7 separate regions of the Homo sapiens genome follow, and regions 1, 2, 4, 5, 6 and 7 are each linked to region 3. Evidence: promoter capture Hi-C in 16 types of primary human blood cells and fetal thymus (Javierre and others, 2016). All regions are on one chromosome and are shown on one strand. Each heading gives the region's core, a stretch centred on a gene start or on the middle of the fragment in contact. The rest is flanking DNA. Distances are from core to core; before and after follow the strand shown.

Region 1 (2,700 bases), core at 109-2,608, 340 kb before region 3:
CTCTCAAAGATTTCTTCAGTAGACACGGTTTTTGCTTCTTCTCTCCTGTCCTGGGACATTTTATGATCCTGACCCCATTCTTACCCTTCCTACCAGCACCTGCTCAGCACGCTCTGGAAACAAAGAACACTCTATCCTCTCACTGTAAATTGACTGTAGAGTCCAGGCTAGGGACACCACGACATCATCCCTGTAGCTGCTAGTTCTTTCATGCCATCACTGAGCCGGGAGCCCCGGAAACTTAGCTTGGAGGAGTGGAGCAGTAGGGCATCTTAAAATGTTTTTTTGTTTGTTTGTTTTAGATGGAGTTTTGCTCTGTCTCCCAGGCTGGAGTGCAGTGGCGCTATCTTGGCTCACTGCAACCTCTGCCTCCTGGGTTCAAGAGATTCTCCTGCCTCAGCCTCCCTAGAAGCTGGGATTTCAGGCACGCGCCACCATGCCCAGCTGATTTTTGTATTTTTAGTAGAGATGGGGTTTCACTATGTTGGCCAGGCTGCTCTTGAACTCCGGACCTCAAGTGATCTGCCCGTCTCAGCCTCCCAAACTGCTGGGATTAAAGGCGTGAGCCACCGAACCCGGCAAATCTTAGAATTTTTGAGAGGAAGGGACCTTCAAGAGACAAACGCAGTTCAGGGACGTGGGGCTATTGCCCACAGTCACCAGTTGGTTCTCTTTTTTTGGGGGGGTGGGGGGATAGGGTCTTACTCTGTCGCCCAGGCTGGAGTGCAGTGGCACGATCTTGACTCACTGCAACCTCCGCCTCCCGGGTTCAAGTGATTCTCCTGCTTCAGCCTCCCCAGTAGCTGGGATTACAGGCGCGCGCCCCCAAGACCTGCTAATTTTTGTATTTTTAGTAGAGACGGGGTTTCAGCATGTTGGCCAGGCTGGTATCGAACTCCTGACCCCAAGTGATCCGCCCTCCTCGGCCTCCCAGAGTCCTGGGATTACAGGCGTGAAGCACTGCGCCTGGCCTAGTTGGTTCTCTTTTTCCCTGTCAGCCTGTAGCGGGAGTGGCTTGCTGTCAGCTCGGGTCCGACACTGCAGGGTTCCCGACCTCCAGCCTCGCCAGGAGAGCGCCGCGTTCAGCGACTCGGAGCCGGGTACCTCCTGCCTGCTGGATTAGGTAGAAGGAGAAGCTCAGCCAATCCTGAGGGCTCGGAGGCAAGGAAGGCGGGACGAAGAGGAAAAGTTGAGGACAGGAGCGTCACCCAATCCAACGCCTGACTGCAAAAGCGATGGCGGCGAGCACCCAATTGTAGACGGCAGTTAGAGGGAGGATGGTTAGTGGAGAGCGGACCAATCCGTGACAGGGGAGGGCAATCTTAAGCCAATTAAAGCTGAGAAGGTGGGAAGGGGCGGAGCTCGCCCTGTGGCTGCTCGGTGGTGGGTGAGGTATCAGCTTTCTCCGCTAGTTCCCACCCTGGTAGTCCTTAGCCCCTGGAATGCGTGAGGGAGATGCTTAGGGAGTTCTCGAAGTGGGGCGTAGAGGCATCGCCTGGCAAGGCCTGGGAGCGAAAAAGATCTCTACTTCGTGGAGCCGTTGGACGCTACCGGGTGGGCATCAAGGAAGCGGAGGGTGGCTAAGGGGCGGGACTTCCGGGGGCAGGGCTTATCGGACGGGGGTGGGGCCTGTTCTAAGGTTAGGCCGAGGTGGGCGGAGCTAATGGGAGAGCTTTGGGTGTGACCTAGGAGAAAGAAGGGCAGTAACTTAAGCGATTGTTTTGGAGTGGCAAGTGATAGTTAAGGGCTGATAAGGTTGCTGGGGAGGTTACCTGTCTTAACTCACTGCCCTTTTTTCTCAGGGAGCCACTGGTGGGGACCTTTTTTGGGCCCCCTTTCCTTCGTGGGGTACTATGGAGTTCCCAGAACACAGTCAGCAGCTGCTGCAGAGCCTCCGGGAGCAGCGGTCCCAGGGTTTCCTTTGTGACTGCACCGTGATGGTGGGTAGTACCCAGTTCTTGGCCCATCGGGCTGTGCTGGCCTCCTGCAGCCCATTCTTCCAGCTTTTCTACAAGGAGCGGGAATTGGACAAGAGGGATCTGGTGTGTATTCACAATGAAATTGTCACAGCCCCAGCCTTTGGGCTGCTTCTGGACTTTATGTATGCTGGCCAGCTGACCCTGAGAGGGGATACCCCTGTGGAGGATGTGCTGGCAGCTGCCAGCTACTTGCACATGAATGACATCGTCAAGGTGTGTAAGCGGCGGCTTCAAGCCCGGGCCCTGGCAGAGGCAGACAGTACCAAGAAGGAGGAGGAAACCAACTCACAGCTTCCTAGTTTGGAGTTTTTGTCTAGTACTTCCCGTGGCACCCAACCTTCGTTGGCATCTGCTGAGACATCAGGCCACTGGGGCAAAGGGGAATGGAAAGGCTCTGCTGCTCCCTCACCTACTGTCCGTCCTCCAGATGAGCCACCAATGTCTAGTGGGGCTGACACTACACAGCCTGGCATGGAGGTTGACGCACCACATCTGCGGGCACCTCATCCACCAGTGGCTGATGTCTCTCTTGCCAGCCCTAGTAGCTCCACTGAGACCATTCCTACAAACTACTTCTCTTCTGGCATCTCAGCAGTTTCATTGGAGCCACTGCCATCTCTTGATGTGGGTCCTGAGAGTCTGAGGGTGGTGGAACCAAAGGATCCTGGAGGACCACTGCAAGGCTTCTATCCCCCAGCCTCAGCCCCAACGTCAGCCCCAG
Region 2 (2,820 bases), core at 41-2,540, 480 kb before region 3:
CTCTCTGCCTCTGCCCAACCAAGTCTTGGCCAGCACACTTCAGACCCTGACCTCTCAGCATCTGTAAGCACTTGGCATATTGTCTGTGACACAGTAGGCAATAATTTTTTTTTTTTTTTGAGGCAAAGTCTCACTCTGTCGTCCAGGTTGGAGTGCAGTAGTGCCATTTCAGCTCACTGCAACCTACACCTCCTGGGTGCAATCAATTCTCCAGCCTCAGCCTTCTGAGTAGCTGGGATTACAGGCGCGCACCACCACGCCCAGCTAATTTTTGTATTTTTAGTAGAGACAGGGTTTTGCCATGTTGGCAAGGCTGGTCTCGAACTCCTGATCTCAAGTGATCCACCCACCTTGGCCTCCTGAAGTGCCGGGATTATAGCCATGAGCCACAGCGCCCGGTCAATAAATGATTACTAAATGACATTTTTGCTGCCTTGGACACCTGAGAACCAGACAGGAAGTCTATCTGCTTCTCTGACTCTATTAGCATTCTTCTTTTTTTTTTTTTTTTTTTGAGAAAGAGTCTCACTCTGTCACCCAGGCTGGAGTGCAGTGCAGTGGCATGATTTCGGCTCACTGCAAGCTCCGCCTCCCGGGTTCATGCCATTCTCCTGCCTCAGCCTCCCGAGTAGCTGGGACTACAGGTGCCCGCCACCACGCCCAGCTAATTTTTTGGTATTTTTAGTAGAGACGGGGTTTCACCGTGTTAGCCAGGATGGTCTCGATCTCGTGACCTTGTGATCCACCTGCCTTGGCCTCCCAAAGTGCTGGGATTACAGGCATAAGCCACTGCACCTGGCCTAGCATTCTTATCCCTCTAACATACAGACAAACTCTGAGTCTTGAGACTCCCTCAAGATGGATGTTATTGGCCCTATCTCACGGAGAAGGAAACTGAGGTTAAGAGGTTCAAGCAGGGATAGAGCAAGGATTCCACCCCCAAATGATCTCAAAGCCCATGCTTTCCTCCTCTTTTTTTTTTTTTTAGACGGAGTTTTGCTCTTGTCGCCCATGCTGGAGTGCAGTGGTGCAGTCTCGGCTCCCAAGTTCAAGCAATTCTCCTGCTTCAGCTTCCCAAGTAGCTGGCACTACAGGCACGCGCCACCACACCTGGCTAATTTTTGTATTTTTAGTAGAGACGGGGTTTCACCATATTGGCCAGGCTGGTCTCAAACTCCTGACCTTGTGATCCTCCCACCTCGGCCTCCCAAAATCTCACTCCTGGGATTACAGGCATAAGTCACTGCGCCCAGCCTCCTCCTCTTAAATCTGGCCACCATCCTGGCTGGGTGACCCATTCAACTCAATAGTGCCAGTGTCATGATGTCTTCAGCCCCAAGGACCTTACCCTCTACCCTGTGTCAGCCAAATCCAGAGCCCTCAACTGCTCCCGCTTCAAGAGCTAAAACCCCAATGTCTTCCACTCTCACTCTCCCACCCCCTCAGCCTCTCATCTTCCTCCAGGCCCTGTCCTTGCCCATCCTCAGCAAGTGCTTTCTTTCCCTGAGCAGCCTGGACCCTGCAGTCTTTCCTCAGCACCACCAATACTCATGATCCCCCGACCCCTTGCTTCTACCACAAATTCACCACCCTGGGTCAATGCTACCATCCATCTTCTCTGACCCGACACATGGGCAGTCAGGCACTGCTGGAAAAAGCTCCCACTCTCTGGCAGATTGGCACCAGAACAAATGTAGGGTTCCTGACCTCTGCTCAGGAGCCTCATGGCTCCACCTCACATCTTTGTGCTTGTCCTTAGTCAACTCACTTGCCTTATTCCCAAAAGTGCTTGTTCTCAACTTCCACCTCTCTTCATGGCCGCTACCTCTGACTTGCTGCCTGCATGATTTTTTTTTTAAGAGTTGGGGGGCCGGGTGTGGTGGCTCACACCTGTAACTGCAACACTTTGGGAGGCCAAGGCACGTGGATAACCTGAGGTCAGGAGTTCAAGATCAGCCTGGCTAACATGGTGAAAACCCGTCTCTACTAAAAATACAAAAATTAGCCAGCCATGGTGGCGGGCAGCTGTAGTCCCAGGTACTCGGGAGGCTGAGGCAGGAGAATTGTTTGAACCCAGGAGGCAGAGGGTGCAGTGAGCCGAGATGGCACCATTGCACTCCAGCCTGGGTGACAGAGCAAGACTCCGTCTCAAAAAAAAAAAAAAAAAAAGAGAGAGAGAGAAAAGAGCTGGGGGGTCTCACTCTGTCACCCAGGCTGGAGTGGCTCACTGCGACCTCACATTACTGGGCTCAAGGGATCCTCCCACCTCAGCCTCCCAAGTAGATAGGACTACAGGAGCACACCACCACACCCAGCTAATTTTTTTTATTTTGTAGAGACAAAGAGTGTCACTGTGTTGCCCAAGCTCGTCTCAAGCTCCTGGGCTCAAACAATCCTCCTACCTCAGCCTCCCAAAATGCTGGGATTATAGGCGTGAGCCACCACCCCTGGTCTCCATGTTGATTTAAATGAGACAATATTCTCAAATTCTTTGTTTGATTAAGAAATCTTGCAGTCACTGGGTTTATTCTACTTCATGCGCGTGGGAGAAGAGGAATGTGTCAATGCTCCCCCTCTGGCTTAACAAAGAAAACTCACAGGTATTTATACCTTCTAGAAAACACAGATGTGAATTTAAATATTATTGCCAGGGCAACACACTATTAAGGAAGACAAGCAATCAGAATCACAAGCTTTTTAAAAGTTAAAGGTTACTTTCGCAGGACAAAGCAAGTCTCATAAAGTTAACTGTCTGACGAGACTCCCTTGTTAGAAATAACATTTGCAAAGATGGTTTTACGATGCAAAAAAGAATCTGCT
Region 3 (2,716 bases), core at 37-2,536:
AAAAGAATGAAAAGAGATATTATGTGAAAGGGTGACAGTGATTGGCACATTGTGTGAAGTAAGTGTTAAATATTGTATGCATGTGCACACAAATAGACAAATGCATCTCTGACCCACCCCTTAACATGTTGCAGTCCTATCTTGCTCAGCCACCCACCTCTGTACGCAGACAGCACTGAGATCTTCTAATTAATACACATTTCAGTCCAAAATGATGTCATTTTCTCTGAAAAACAAATAAACCTCTCTGCAAAATAGTTGTTCCTACTGCTTCTTGGTTTGGGTTTTCTAACTCCCCAGGGTCATAAAACTTATCTCCATGGGTGTTGTGAAGCTTTCCAAGTGAATTAATTGGAGTTTGTTTATTAAAAAATAACAACAGCATTTTCAGATGAGAATGGAAGAGGCTGACGCAGAGTGAAAAACAGAGTTAGATAACCCAGTTCCCCAAAGACGGGGGATCTTGGAGAGAGCTGTGATCCTTCTTTCCTTCCTTTCTCCCCCTCTCTCCGTCTCTCTTTCTGCCCCTCTTCCCCCCACAGTTCTTTTCCTTTTAGTGACAGCAGCAACTACTCAGAGACTCCTAATCCCTTTTGCAGAGGACGGAAATGTTTAGAAAACTTCACTCTGGGTTGGCAGTTCCCCAAAGGGAAGCTCTCTTTCTGGAATATTCCTCTGTGCCCAGAATGAGAGACCTTGTCTTGGGTTGGGTTTCTTTTGGGGTCACGAGTCCCTGCAGCTCCCCTTCCAGTGACTTCAGCTGCCAGCATGGAGTGGAGACCCCAGACTTGGAGGCTGCACCAAGGTCTCAGCATCTTGGAGTCTGTCCAGATCTGGGATGAGGGCCTCATTATTCCTATGCTGGATGTACTCATCTTTATGGGGTATTCTCCACTCCTCCCTCCAGGCTATTCCATTCCCTGGGATTCTGAGGGTTGTTGGATATAGAAGATGGGACCCTTTTTAGGCTTCCTTACAGCCTGGGGCTCTCTCCAAGTTTCCAAGATGAGCTTGCTCACCAGACCCAGTTTTCTGAGACTCAGCATGCCCAGGTCCTCCCAGCAGCTCCAGAGCAGGAATGGGCAGCTCACTCCTTCTTCTGAGCAGAACTGGGGGGTCCTGAGAGTTCCTAAGTCCAGGAGGGAGGGAAGGGTCTCTGAGCACTCACCGGAGCTGCAGCAGAGAGCCAGTGTGACCAGGGTGAGGGTGACAGCGAGTTTCATGGTGGAGGAGGGGGATGCTCTGGCCCGTCTCTGGTTCCGTCTCTGAGTCTGGTGGGCTAGTATGAGACATGCCCAGCAAGGTGCCTTTTATATGCTCTAGGCAGCAGCACCCAGATGGGGAAGGGCAGGGCAAGGGCTCTACATAAGATACTGCACTATTTACTTGGCATTGGCTTGGTGGGATAGGTAAATATTCCCTTTTCTCAACCCAGTTTCTGTCCCCACTGAAACTGAGCTCACACAATGGGCCACTTGGGGGTGGAGGGCCGAGCCCTGCCTGGAGGCAGTGAAGGGAACCCAAGTCAGAGGATGTGGAAACCCAGCTGCCTGTGTCACTCACTGAACCTGGGCACTGGGGCAGTCCAGATCAAGAGAAGCAATTGTGGAGCCCACCTGGAGAAACTGAGGCCCAAGTTCCCTCACAAGTGGCAGGGACAGGACTAGGACTAGGACTCAGGACCCTGACACTCCACTGGGCTCTTTCATAGGCTCCCCTCTGAGGAGGGCGACTGAACCTTAAGCCAGGAAAGACACATGGTTTGGAGCATTGCTGTGGTCAGACTTCGGGGGCCCCTGGATTGAAGCATGTTGAATAAAAGGGACCCTTCCAGAATTCCCATCAGAAACCTGAGCCCTGCCCCAGGCTGGGTCTGTTCCCACCCAGAAGTGCTCTCAAGTCCTGTGCTCCTGATGGCCCAATTGGTGGGACCTTCAGTCCTTATCTCACTTGACCTCCCAATGGCCTTGACACCTGTGACTGCTTCCTTCTCGAACCATTCTCTCTCTTGCGCTCCCACGCCTCAGTTCTTTCCTGTTTTCCTTCTTCTGGCCATTCCTTCTTGTTCTCTTTAGATGTTTATTCTTTACTGTTCTTAAGTGTTGATGGTTCCCAGGCTTTGGCCTTCTCCCCTTTCTTGCCTCCAGTTGCCATTTCCTGGTTCTTCTCCAAAGCCCGGGCCTCATAGCACCTAACCTGGCCTGGTCAAAATCCCCTGACTCGACCTCCCTGCCTCCCTGCTAGCTCTCCTCAGCCATCCTCTGAAAGGCCATCAGAATGATCTTCCTAAAACCCACTGGTCGTGTCCTTCTTCTTGAAACCCTTAAACTCTTCCTTTTGCCTAAAGAATAAAATTCAAGTGCAATTTACAAGGCCCTTGCCCACTGACCTTTGCCTACCATTTGAACTTCATTTCTCCTCTCCCCCACACAACGACTTAGCCCTCTCTTACTATTTGTGGATTCGAGAATGTTCCATGTTTTTTCATGCCTTTCTACCTATGCACAAGCTAAGCCTCATGCCTGAATACACATTTCCTGCCTTGTCCACTTCGCCAAATTCTATTCGTACTTCAAGACTCAATCAAATATTGATCCATTCATTCATCCAATAAATGCTGACCACCTATGATGTGCCAGATGTGGTGCTAGGAGTCGGGAACTGGGGTAGATAGACATGGAGAGGCATTGCGTGGCACTTCAAGAACTCCTCAAAA
Region 4 (2,896 bases), core at 27-2,526, 460 kb before region 3:
GCTACTGCATCTGCTCAGCAGCAGGCGCGGCCTCTGGGAAGGGGCAGCGGAGCCCCGCCCCGGCCCGCCCCTTAAGGTGGAACCTCGGGGACTGCCCCAGCCGTGGGCGGCTCAGGGTAGTAAAGTCAGGAACACGCCTCCGACAGTACTTCCTGCATGGTCCAATTTCTCATCTCCAACCTGTCTAACCCTAAAGTTCTTTTCAACCTGATTCTGGGAAGGCCTGGCACGGAGCCACCTTTAAGTGGACTAGGCCTGTGATCCTGCCCCAAATCCCGAGGCCCCTCCAGTGTCCTTTAGGCCTTACCGCCCCCAAACGCCCCTCTTCTTCCATTCCGGCAGGCTAGTGACTACCCCAACACCATCCTCCATTTGCCCCTGGTTCACGGCTCCGGCCGCCGTCTGGTTTTCCCAACTTTGCATGGCTACTTGCACTCTCAGAGGCAGCCAGTCACAACTTCTGCCTTTTCCCCCACCAAGGCTTGCCCTCTCAGGCCTCTGGGACTTGGCGCTAGACCTCTGCTAGACCTCTGCTTCCGTGCACGGCTTACTCCCACTCGTTTTTCAAGACTCATCTTGAATTCATTTCAAGAAATTCCTCATGCAGCAACTATTTATTGTGTACTCACTACAATACTTTGCTTTGTTAACTTTATTGAATTTAACACTAATCCAGCCTTCTTCACAGTACTTTAAAATGAATGGTTTGGGCAGGAAGGTTGAGGTAGACACCCCCCTTCTTATCCTACCCCACCCCCAGCTGCTAGCACCTGGATGTTTGGCAGCTAGGAATCAGACATCCAGAAGAGACTGATAGGGCTGTAATGAACATAACAGAGCTAGGTCTCAGAGGCATCCACCTTTTTTGTGGAATAGACCAGAAGATGCCATGGCCAGACTCTTACCCACCTTGCAGGAACTCCCACAGTTATCCCCAAACTCCCCCAAGGTCCTGTCTCCCTATCACTTCACTATGTTAGGCCTTGGAGGCAGCTGGTACTGCAGAGGCTTTGAAGAAGCCTAGAATTCCCTCCACAGGGTCCTTGGATTGAAGTGGGGCAGAGACAGGGTTCACAGCAGGGAACTACCGGACATCAACACCGTGGGGTGCCAACACTCTCAGGAACTCCTTGTTCCTAAACAGTGCCAGTTGGGCTACTTTCAGAGAGGAGCTGGAGGAAATCGGTTCTTTCTCCCTTTCCCACCTAGGCTGGAAGCCAAGATTGCTGTGTATTTGGAAGAAAGCAAAAGCCAAGATCTGAAGTAATAGCATAGAGAAAAGGGTCACCCTCTGCTAGTCCCCTCTGCAACCCCAGGCATCCAACCCCATCCCCACCCTAGGAACAAGGGGTGCACGGGGCAGCCCCTGGGAGAAGGCAAGCAAGTGGGTTCAGACCAGTGCTCAAAGATAATAAGAGATCCAAGGTGCCCTGCATGTGCCAGATAAGAAGTGCCAACCAGAGGTTCTGAATGGACTATATCTCGAGCACAAAAGCTCAAGGCTGGGCGCAGTGTGACTCATGCCTGTCACCTAGCCCTTTAGGAGGCCAAGGAGGGAGGATTCCTTGAGGCCAGGAGTTTAAGACCAGACGGGGCAACATAGTGAGACTCCATTTCTAAATAAATAAAAAAATAAATTTTAAAATTATCTGGGCCTGGCTGGGTGTGGTGGCTCACACCTGTAATCCCACCTACTAATCCCTGTAATCCCACTTCTCATGCTGTGGCATGAGAATCGCTTGAACCCAGGAGGTAGAGGTTGCAGTGAGCCAAGAATGGGCCACTGCACTCCAGTCTGGGTGATAGAGCAAGACTCTGCCTCAAAAAAACTAACAGGCCAGGTGTGGTGGCTGACACCTGTAATCCCAGCACTTTGGGAGGCTGAGGGTGGCGGATAACTTGAGGTCAGGAGTTCGTGACCAGCCTGGCCAACATGGTGAAACCCCATCTCTACTAAAAATACAAAAATTAACTGGACATAGTAGCACACGCCTGTAGTCCCAGACTTGGAGGGGTGAGGCATGAGAATCGCTTGAACCCGAGAGGCAGAGGTTGCAGTGAGCCAAGATTGCGCGGCTGCACTCCAGCCTGGGTGACAGAGTGAGACTCTGTCTCAAAAAAGAAAAAAAAAGGCCAGGCGTGGTGTCTCACACCTGTAATACCAGCACTTTGGGAGGCCGAGGCAGGTGGATCAAGAGGTCAGGAGACCGAGACCATCCTGGCTAACACAGTGAAACCCCGTCTCTACTAAAAATGCAAAAAAAAAAAAAAAAAATCAGCCAGGCGTGGTGGCGGGTGCCTGTAGTCCCAGCTACTTAGGAGGCTGAGGCAGGAGAATGACGTGAACCTGGGAGGCGGAGCTTGCAGTGAGCCAAAATCGCGCCACTGCACTCCAGCCTGGGATACAGAGCAAGACTCCGTCTCAAAAAAAAAAAAAATTATCATCTGTAATTGGTGATGTGCCCCTGGAGTCCCATGAGATGCCAACACTCAAGGGAAGCAAAAGCAGGAGGATCACTTGAGTCCAGGAGTTTGTGAGGCTGCAGTGAGCCATGGTGGCACCACTGCATACCAGCCTAGGAGACAGAGCGAGACCCTGTCTCTAAAAATAAGTAAGAACAAGGTTGAGAACTGTGGGGTCAGAAGCTGTCTTTGAGATGGTCCAACATGACACAGTATCTCACTCACAGATCCTCATGGCTCCAAATGGCTGAAGTCAATTCCTTTTGTTTTTTGTTTTTTTTTTTTTGAGACAGGGTCTCACACTGTCACCCAGCATGGAGTGCAGTGGCGCGATCTCAGCTCACTGCAACCTGTGCCTCTCAGGTTCAAGCGATTCTTCTTCCTGAGCCTCCCCAGTAGTTGAGATTATAGGAGGCGTGCACCGCCACACCCG
Region 5 (2,700 bases), core at 57-2,556, 300 kb before region 3:
CCAAGCAAGTTAGGCTATTAGTAGAATTAATTTTCCCCCTGAATGTCTAGTTTGTCAGTTAAAACCCCAGTGTGCATTCACTGCTCTTTAAAAATGTGTGTGTATGTGTGTGTGTAACTGTTAAGTCAGCAGAATTTCCGAGTGCCTGCTATGTGCTAGGTACTGTAAATGCTGACAGTTCCCGCCCTTGAGGAGCTGATTACAGAGACTTTGTTTCTTTTGCATAAAATGATAGGTATGGGTTATACGATATCTGAAATCCCTTCCAGGGCTGAAAGTCTGATTCTATGAATGGCAGTTTTTCCTTATGTTTCTAACTCTGCCATGTATCCTTTTGCCATCTTAAATGTTTTGCAGGAATTGGGGAGCTTCAAAAACAAAGTGGCTTGGTTTTCTTGTGTCTCTGTTCCTCTGCCCTCCCCCCTCAGACTTTTTAAAAGTTCCTGGCTGGTGCTTTAATTAACATGTGTGAGCCTGGCCGAAGCAGGCCTCATATTCCCCCAGAATTGCCTTTGGCTCCAAGTTTTTGATTTCCACCCAGATGTGGAGCCAGGACCCCATGCCAGCTGTCTGAGCGCGCTCTCCATTTCTCTTCCAGTGGGCGGGCAGCGCCGAGGCTACGACAACCGGGCCTACGGGCAGCAGTACTGGGGGCAGCCTGGAAACAGAGGGGTGAGTGCAGCTCTCCTTCTGCTCCTCACTCTGGGCTGTGAGAGCCATTCTGTTGGCTTGGGGGAGCAGAGTGGTTTGCCTGTTTTCTTAGGGCTTAGGGTTTTGCCCATTTAATATGTTCTGGAAGATTTACTATGGGAAAATTAAACCAATTTATAATATCGAGCTAAGATGTGTCGCATTTAAAAGGGGGTCACGGTGGGTCATGCTGCCAAAAACCCATAAACCTTCACTCCTTTTTCTTTTCCTTTCTCAGGGTTACCGTAATTTCTATGATCGATACAGGGGAGACTATGATCGATTTTACGGGCGAGATTATGAGTACAACAGATACAGAGACTATTACAGACAATACAATCGGGATGTGAGTATCTTCTTGGGATAGACACAGGGTGAAGGGGGGCAGGAGCAGAAGGATGAGTGTTATGCCTCTTCATCCTCAGCCAGCTCTGGCTCCAAGTGATGGGGTTTCCCTCTCTTCTAGTGGCAGAGTTACTACTACCACCACCCCCAGGACAGAGACCGATACTACAGGAATTACTACGGGTACCAAGGGTATCGGTGAAGCCCCTGCCATGGTCACCTGTCAGCCATGAAGCTGAATCTCTGGGGGTGCCAGGCACCCCCGCAAAACACAACCAAGGAAAACAGGGGCTGTCGGGGTGGGGCTGAGCTGCCGGGGAGGGGTGGTGGGGGGGGAGGGTGCTCAAGCAGGGGTGGGGGAGGGGGGAGGTGGAAACAAACAACAAAACTGTACATTTTTTTTAAAGTTTGTTGAAAAGAATATTGTCTTATTCTATAAAACATTTCAAACCTAGTTAGAGATTTGTAATCAAAAAACATTTGCGCAGAAAGCAGCACTTAGGGCTGCCTGTTCTATACCCTACAGTCAGACAGGAAAAGAACTGAAAATGGCACCCTTCTGACATTCTGAGGCAGCTGGACTGGCAGCCAAGTAAAGGAGAGTGATGAGGTGGTGTGGGGAGGGTGGGGAGGCAGCGCGAGGGTGCTCTCCACAGCAGGTAGGAGCAGGCAGGAGTGGGGACAGAGGGAGAGCTTGTGACTGGGACAGTGAAAATAAACGATTGGCTCTTATCAATCACTTGCACCAACTAACCGTTTGTATTTTCTTTACCGACCTTTCCCTTTTGGGATATGTGGTCTGGTGGGCTGGGAGGCTTACAGTGTCCCAACTCTCCATTTTCCTGTGCCTTTGTGCTGTTTGGCTGAGGCATGGAGACTGCCAGTGGGTGGTTCTATTTTACAGGATTCCCAGGCCAAGAAAGCCTGGGGACTGTCCTTGATGGCAGAGCAGAATAGCCTGCCCCTTCTATAGACCCATTGATTAATTCCTGTAAAATCTTGGGGAGAATGGGATTGCAGCCCTCAGCCTAAAGATTGTGATTTGCCAGTCTCTAGTCTCTGTCTTCCAAGGTTGAGAGAGGTGGGAGGTCTCTGAAATCATCCCTGTTAGAGTGTCTGTCCTCTTACAGTGCGAGAGAAGGAACGTTTCTCAGGGTTTCAGCTCACACGAAAACACAGCAGGATTCTTTTCACTGCAGCGGGATATGTATATAGGTGAATCCTGTGGTGTGGGCTCACAGGCCCAGGTGCTGAGAATAGCAACTAGCAACTATTTTCTACAGTGTGGAGGGCTCGTGCCCTGCTGGTTTTTTTGATACACAGGTAGAGAATGAATAGAAGAGGGGAGGGTGGTGGGGGGGGGTGGGAGGCAGCTCAGTGGGGCTGCTGAACCTTGGGAAGAGTGTGAGTGTGAACGTGTGTAAATGTGCGTGTGAAAGGGAGCACCCCTTCCCGACTTCTAGAAACAAAATTCCTTTTGGGGCGCTTTCCCTGTGTGTCCCCAGAGAGGCCTCTAGCCAGGAGCCTTCAGTTGGGATAGTTTCATTTGTGACTTTACCAATACCCTCCCAGTTCTTGATAGACAGCTGTAGGTTGCTGGGTTCAAGAATATGGGTGGGATATGGAATGCTCTTTCAATGTCTAGCTTCAGTTTTCATTCATCCT
Region 6 (2,700 bases), core at 171-2,670, 370 kb before region 3:
AAAATAGGCAATGAATATAGAATGCAATGAGCTTCAGAGAAGCCTCACAAGTTATGGTCTCTGTGCAGAAACCTTAGAGTAAACCCAGGCCTTGTATATCCTTCAACAAATAACTATCTGTGAGGTGCTTTTTTTTTTTTTTTTTGCTGGAGTGCAGTGGCGCCATCTCGGCTCACTGCACGCTCTGCCTTCTGGGTTCATGCCATTCTCCTGCCTCAGCCTCCTGAGTAGCTGGGACTACAGGCACCCGCCACCATGCCTGGCTAATTGTTTGTATTTTTAGTAGAGACAGGGTTTCACCGTGTTGGCCAGGATGGTCTTGATCTCCTGACCTCGTGATCCGCCTGCCACGGCCTCCCAAAGTGCTGGGATTACAGGCGTGAGCCACCAGGCCCGGCCAGTGTTTTTGTTTTTGTTTTTGCGATGGAGATTCGCTCGTCACCCAGGCTGGAGTGCAATGGCACGATCTCGACTCACTGCAACCTCCGCCTCCCAGGTTCAAGCGATTCTCCTGCCTCAGCCTCCGAAGTAGCTGGGATTACAGGCATGAGCCACCACACCCGGCTAATTTTTGTATTTTTAGTAGAGACAGAGTTTTGCCATGTTGGCCAGGCTGGTCTCGAACTCCTGACCTCAAGTGATCCGCCTGCCTCAGCCTCCCAAAGTGCTGGGATTACAGGCGTGAGTCACCGCGCCCGGCGGATCTCTGAGGTTTTCTCATGGTGTAAAATAGGCACACTAGTGCCTACTTTATAGGCATTAAATGAACCCATGTTTATTAACCAGATTACCTGGCTGGGGTAAACGATGTAAATTATTGGCTTCTACCTTTACGTCAGCGTTTTCTCCATCTCTCATTTTGTCATTTAACACACTGTGCTACAATCATGTGGCAGCTTGATCATCTCCACTACACTATGCTTTATTTCTCGACAAAGCTCAGCACAAATGGCTTCTGATTTAACGGATGGACGCAGGTTCTGCACTGACTTCTGTTTCGGAACCACAGTAAGGCTGTGCAGCAGGAGCCACGAAACCCGACTCCACCTAGTGCTTTAAGACGCTACTGACCCGTCCCTTTGGCGAGGGGACAACTTCGAAGTATGACCTGGCCAGGAGGAGCCACAAAGCGCGATTAGCCTCGCTGCATTTCAGGTACAGGCCGGCGCCAGCCGTGCCTCACCAGGTCCACCGGCTCCGAGCAGCAGCAAGCCCGGTCGGAAAGCGAAAGTGGCCTCGCCATGTCCAGACCGGCCAGCTCCCCCGCCTACCTGACCCCGCCCCGCAGCCGCACCTGGGTCCGAGTCATCGCCGCGGCCGCCACGGCCCCGCACAGGAAGGCGGCAGCAAAGAGCGCAAGCTCGACGCGCTGCAGCCAGGACAGCGCCATGGCGCCCTGACCACCAGGAAGCGCCGCTGCAGCAGCACCCCGCCCAAAGCCCACCTTATCCGGCGCGACCCACGAAGGTGGAGACGTCATTTCCGGGGGCGGGATTTATTTACAAGGAACGAAGGGGCCACTGACTCAGAGCGGCAAGTACAGCGAGTAGTCCGAGAGCGCCCACCGGCGGGCGGGGCGGCTGGTACGGCCGATCATGGGCAGTTTCTGCACGTAGCGCGAGGCCGGGCTAGGCCCGTACGGCGCGGGGAAGGCAGTCTGGAAAAGGCGCCCGCGGCAGCGCCTCCCAGCCTGCCGCCCGGCTATGATGAAACGAAAGTGCGGGGCGCCGCGCGGGGCGAAACGGCTCTTCTGGAAAACGTCGCGGGTGCCGGTCCCGGGGCCCTGCTGCCGGGGTGCCCCGCGCGCCCGATGCACGCGCGGCAAGGGCCTGCTCTCAGAGGCGGCGGGCCCAGAGGCCGACGCGGGGCCGCCTCCGCCGCTGCCCCGGGGGCTCTCGTCGCCGTGCGGGCTGACTATGGCGCTTGCCGTCAGCTGCGGCATCTTCCGCACCGAGTCCGGGGCTGCCGCCGGCTCCTTCTTGTCCCCGGGCGGCCGCGGAGCCGTGGGTGCAGGCTGGCCGGTGCCAAAGCGTGTGGCCAAGCTGTCACCGAAGAAGGCGTAGAGCTCCCGGTAGATGTCGGCCAGGGTCACCGAAAGAGAAGGGTCCTCCGGCCCCGCGCCCCCTGGCGGCAGCGGGAGGCCGGACCCAAAGCTGGGTTCTGCACCGCCCCCGGAGGACGACTCTTGAAAGAGAAGGCTGTCCCATGGCAGGTCGTCCAGGCGCCGGCACCCCCTGCCACCTGGGCCACCCCTGTTGGGCTCTGCTGCCTGGGCCTTCATCTTCAGCAGTCGCTCTACCGCCACCTGTAAGAGCCAAGGACTAAGATAGGCAAAAAATTCGAGGAACCTGGGCCCATCAAATATTCCAAAGTAAGCCTGCTTGGCTGCTAAGCTCATGCAGGGAAGGGAGGCTGGAAGGGGACGGTACTCACCAGAATGGCTCCATAGACTTTGTGTCCATCTGCTTTGACCTGGGCATTAGATACTGAATAATCATCCAGCACAGCCTGCAAGTTTGTCCAGTAGGTGGACAGGTGTGGGTACAGGACTCGTTCTACTGCCTGGAAGGAAGAGAAGGAATACAGTTAGCATGTCTTTGATACTTATTCCCTCTCAAGGACCCTTTCCCATGAAAGACCTACCTTTATCTCTGATCCTAGACAGGGCTCAATCCTCCTAAATTCCCTGATTGGCATATT
Region 7 (2,700 bases), core at 110-2,609, 440 kb before region 3:
GCACACTCCAACATGTCCAGCTAATTTTTGTATTTTTAGTAGAGACGGGATTTCACCATGTTGCCCAGGCTGGTCTTGAACTCCTGACCTCAGGTAATCCGCCTGCCTTGGCCTCCCAAAGTGCTGGGATTACAGGTAAGCCACCGCGCCTGGCCTAGCAGCACTTCTTAATGGCTGTATTGATCAATTTGGGCTATAGCTTAAAGACAATGGAGAGGCACTGAACTGATTGTGAGCTGAAGTGGGACCTGACCAGACTTTTTTTTTTTTTTTTTTTTTTTGAGAGAGGTTTTGCTCTTGTTGGCCAGGCTGGAGTGCAGTGGCACGATCTCAGCTCACCGCATCCTCCGCCTTTCTCAAGCGACTCTCCTGCCTCAGCCTCCTGAGTAGCTCGAATTACAGGCATATGCCACCACGCCTGGCTGATTTTGTATTTTTAGTAGAGATGGGGTTTCTCCATGTTGGTCAGGCTGGTCTCGAACTCCCAACCTCAAGTGATCCACACGCCTAGGCCTCCCAACGTGCTGGAATTACAGGCATGAGCCACTGTGCCCGACCGACCAGAGTTTTTATTCGTAAAGATCACTCTGACTACAGTGTGGAGAATGAACTAGAAGGGAAGAAGCCAGAGCCAGGAAGCCAGACTGAGTCTGTTACCTAGGGATTGCTTTGGGAGGCCAAGGCTGGAGAATCACTTGAGCCCAGGAGTTTGAGACCAGCCTGGGCAACACAGCAAGACCTCTGTCTATTCAAAAAGCAAAATAGATTAGCTGGGCACGGTGGCCCATGCCTGTAGTCCCAGCTCAGCCCAGAGGATTGCTTGTGTGCAGGAGTTTGAGGTTACAGTGACCAAGAGTGAAACCCTCTTTTTTTTTTGAGACAGGGCCTCTATTTGTTGCACAATTAAAGCTCACTGCAGCCTTGAACTCCTGGGCTCAAGCAATCCTCCCCACCTCAGCCTCCCCCAGAACTGGGACTATACACATGCACCACCACACGCAGCTAATTTTTATTTTTGTAGAGACGGGCTCCATATGTTGCCCAGGCTGGTCTCAAACTCCTGGGCTCAAGTAGTCTGCTTGCCTTGGCCTCCCAAAGTGCTGGGATTATGTGGGGGAAAGAAAGAGAGATCACACTGTTACTGTGTCTATGTGGAAAAAGGAAGACATAAGAAACTCCATTTTGATCTGTACTAAGAAAAATTATTCTGCCTTGAAACACCGTTAATCTGTAACCCTAGCCCCAACCCTGTGCTCGCAGAAACATGCACTGTATTGACTCAAGGTTTAATGGATTTAGGGCTGTGCAGGATGTGCTTTGTTAAAAATGTGTTTGCAGGCAGTATGCTTGGTAAAAGTCATCGCCATTCTCCAGTCTCGAGTACCCAGGGACACAGTGCACTGCGGAAGGCCGCAGGGACCTCTGCCCAAGAAAGCCTGGGTATCGTCCAAGGTTTCTCTCCACTGAGACAGCCTGAGATATGGCCTCATGGGAATGGAAAGACCTGACCGTCCCCCAGACACCCATAAAGGGTCTGTGCTGAGAAGGATTAGTGAAAGAGGAAGGCCTCTTTGCAGTTGAGATAAGAGGAAGGCATCTGTCTCCTGCTAGTCCCTGGGAATGGAATATCTCTGTATAAAACCCGATTGTACATTCTATTTACTGAGATAGGAGAAAACCGCCTTATGGCTGGAGGTTAGACATGCTGGCGGCAATACTGCTTTTTTTTTTTTTTTGAGACAGAGTCTCGCCTTGTCGCCCAGGTTTCACACCATTCTCCTGCCTCAGCCTCCCAAGTAGCTGGGACTACAGGCGCACGCCATCACACCCGGCTAATTTTTTTTTTGTATTTTTAGTAGAGACGGGGTTTCACCATGTTAACCAGGATGGTCTCGAACTCCTGACCTCGTGATCCACCCACCTCAGCCTCCCAAAGTGCTGGGATTACAGGCGTGAGCCACCGCGCCCGGCCAATACTGCTCTTTACTGCGCTGAGATGTTTGTGTAAAGTCAATCATAAATGTGGCCTACGTGCACATCAAGGCACAGCACCTTTCCTTAAACTTATTTATGACACAGAGTCCTTTGCTCACATGTTTTCCTGCTGACCCTCTCCCCACCATTACCCTATAGTCCTGCCACATCCCTCTGGCTGAGATGGTAGAGATAGTGATCAATAAATACTGAGGGAACTCAGAGACCAGTGCTGGTGCGGGTCCTCCGTATGCTGAGCGCCAGTCCCCGGGTCCACTTTTCTTCCTCTATACTTTGTCTCTGTGTCTTATTTCTTTTCTCAGTCTCTCGTCCCACCTGACGAGAAATACCCACAGGTGTGGAGGGGCTGGCCCCCTTCAGGATTACAGGCGTGAGCCGCTCCACCCAGCCTACTTTTTTTAAAATGCCCTCTTTTCTAGTAGATTCTATGTCACTCACAAGAGGTTGCAAACTCACAATCAAAGGCCACCTTTGGCCCACGGGCATATTTTGGTTTTTTGTTTGTTTTTGAGACTCACTCTTGTCCCCCAGGCTGGAGTGCAGTGGGGTGATCTTGGCTCACTGCAACTTCCACCTCCCGGGTTCAACCACTTCTCCTGCCTCAGCCTCCTAAGTAGCTAGGATTACAATCGCCTGCCACCGCACCCACACCACGCCCGGCTTATTTTTGAATTTTTAGTAGAGAAGGGTTTTCACCATGTTGGC

What was found. Contacts are between HindIII fragments. The CHiCAGO score rates a contact against its expected background, and 5 or more counts as called.
Region 1: the fragment with the promoter of ZBTB3 here is called in contact with the fragment with the promoter of SCGB1A1 in region 3 in 1 of 17 cell types (monocytes); the score reaches 6.0 in monocytes.
Region 2: a contact is called between a fragment that was not itself captured here and the fragment with the promoter of SCGB1A1 in region 3, in 2 of 17 cell types (naive B cells and naive CD8 T cells). The highest score is 6.0, in naive B cells.
Region 4: a contact is called between a fragment that was not itself captured here and the fragment with the promoter of SCGB1A1 in region 3, in 5 of 17 cell types (total CD4 T cells, total B cells, naive B cells and 2 more). The highest score is 7.4, in total CD4 T cells.
Region 5: a fragment that was not itself captured here is called in contact with the fragment with the promoter of SCGB1A1 in region 3 in 1 of 17 cell types (monocytes); the score reaches 5.1 in monocytes.
Region 6: the fragment with the promoter of TMEM179B here is called in contact with the fragment with the promoter of SCGB1A1 in region 3 in 17 of 17 cell types (total B cells, erythroblasts, total CD8 T cells and 14 more); the score reaches 24.2 in total B cells.
Region 7: a contact is called between a fragment that was not itself captured here and the fragment with the promoter of SCGB1A1 in region 3, in 13 of 17 cell types (naive B cells, total B cells, naive CD8 T cells and 10 more). The highest score is 10.1, in naive B cells.

What each region holds. Positions count from the first base shown.
Region 1 is chr11:62,752,818-62,755,517 of GRCh38, reverse strand. It overlaps ZBTB3 (zinc finger and BTB domain containing 3), which reads left to right and starts at 1,358. Exons shown (of 2, transcript NM_001370809.1): 1 at 1,358-1,554; 2 at 1,803-2,700. The coding sequence starts at 1,854. RefSeq lists enhancers at 70-947, 1,828-2,700. The HindIII fragment of the contact is 6,803 bases long and covers 1-2,700 here.
Region 2 is chr11:62,899,121-62,901,940 of GRCh38, reverse strand. No RefSeq gene overlaps it. Among named protein-coding and RNA genes, the nearest start is that of CHRM1-AS1, 8.9 kb to the left of the region's middle. The HindIII fragment of the contact is 2,810 bases long and covers 1-2,695 here.
Region 3 is chr11:62,417,603-62,420,318 of GRCh38, reverse strand. It overlaps SCGB1A1 (secretoglobin family 1A member 1), which reads right to left and starts at 1,286. Exons shown (of 3, transcript NM_003357.5): 1 at 1,169-1,286. The coding sequence starts at 1,223. All of the region lies in intron 1 of LOC102723765 (a long non-coding RNA gene), which reads left to right. RefSeq lists a silencer at 1,968-2,262. The HindIII fragment of the contact is 29,364 bases long and covers 337-2,716 here.
Region 4 is chr11:62,878,012-62,880,907 of GRCh38, reverse strand. It overlaps SLC3A2 (solute carrier family 3 member 2), which reads right to left and starts at 12. Exons shown (of 9, transcript NM_001013251.3): 1 at 1-12. RefSeq lists enhancers at 1-271, 641-690. The HindIII fragment of the contact is 6,323 bases long and covers 1-2,896 here.
Region 5 is chr11:62,713,836-62,716,535 of GRCh38, reverse strand. It overlaps HNRNPUL2 (heterogeneous nuclear ribonucleoprotein U like 2), which reads left to right. Exons shown (of 14, transcript NM_001079559.3): 12 at 599-672; 13 at 929-1,036; 14 at 1,157-2,700. The coding sequence ends at 1,237. It overlaps HNRNPUL2-BSCL2 (HNRNPUL2-BSCL2 readthrough (NMD candidate)), which reads left to right. Exons shown (of 24, transcript NR_037946.1): 12 at 599-672; 13 at 929-1,036. Among named protein-coding and RNA genes, the nearest start is that of GNG3, 7.5 kb to the right of the region's middle. RefSeq lists an enhancer at 612-1,113. The HindIII fragment of the contact is 3,689 bases long and covers 1-2,700 here.
Region 6 is chr11:62,786,122-62,788,821 of GRCh38, reverse strand. TMEM179B (transmembrane protein 179B) reads right to left here and starts at 1,420. Exons shown (of 5, transcript NM_199337.3): 1 at 1,295-1,420. The coding sequence starts at 1,390. It overlaps TAF6L (TATA-box binding protein associated factor 6 like), which reads right to left. Exons shown (of 11, transcript NM_006473.4): 10 at 2,434-2,562; 11 at 1,480-2,305. The coding sequence ends at 1,526. It also overlaps a transcript of TMEM223 not described here. RefSeq lists a silencer at 1,790-1,899 and an enhancer at 2,150-2,349. The HindIII fragment of the contact is 7,473 bases long and covers 1-2,700 here.
Region 7 is chr11:62,859,492-62,862,191 of GRCh38, reverse strand. It overlaps a transcript of SLC3A2 not described here. Among named protein-coding and RNA genes, the nearest start is that of SNHG1, 5.0 kb to the right of the region's middle. RefSeq lists enhancers at 254-1,158, 2,327-2,700. The HindIII fragment of the contact is 5,884 bases long and covers 1-2,700 here.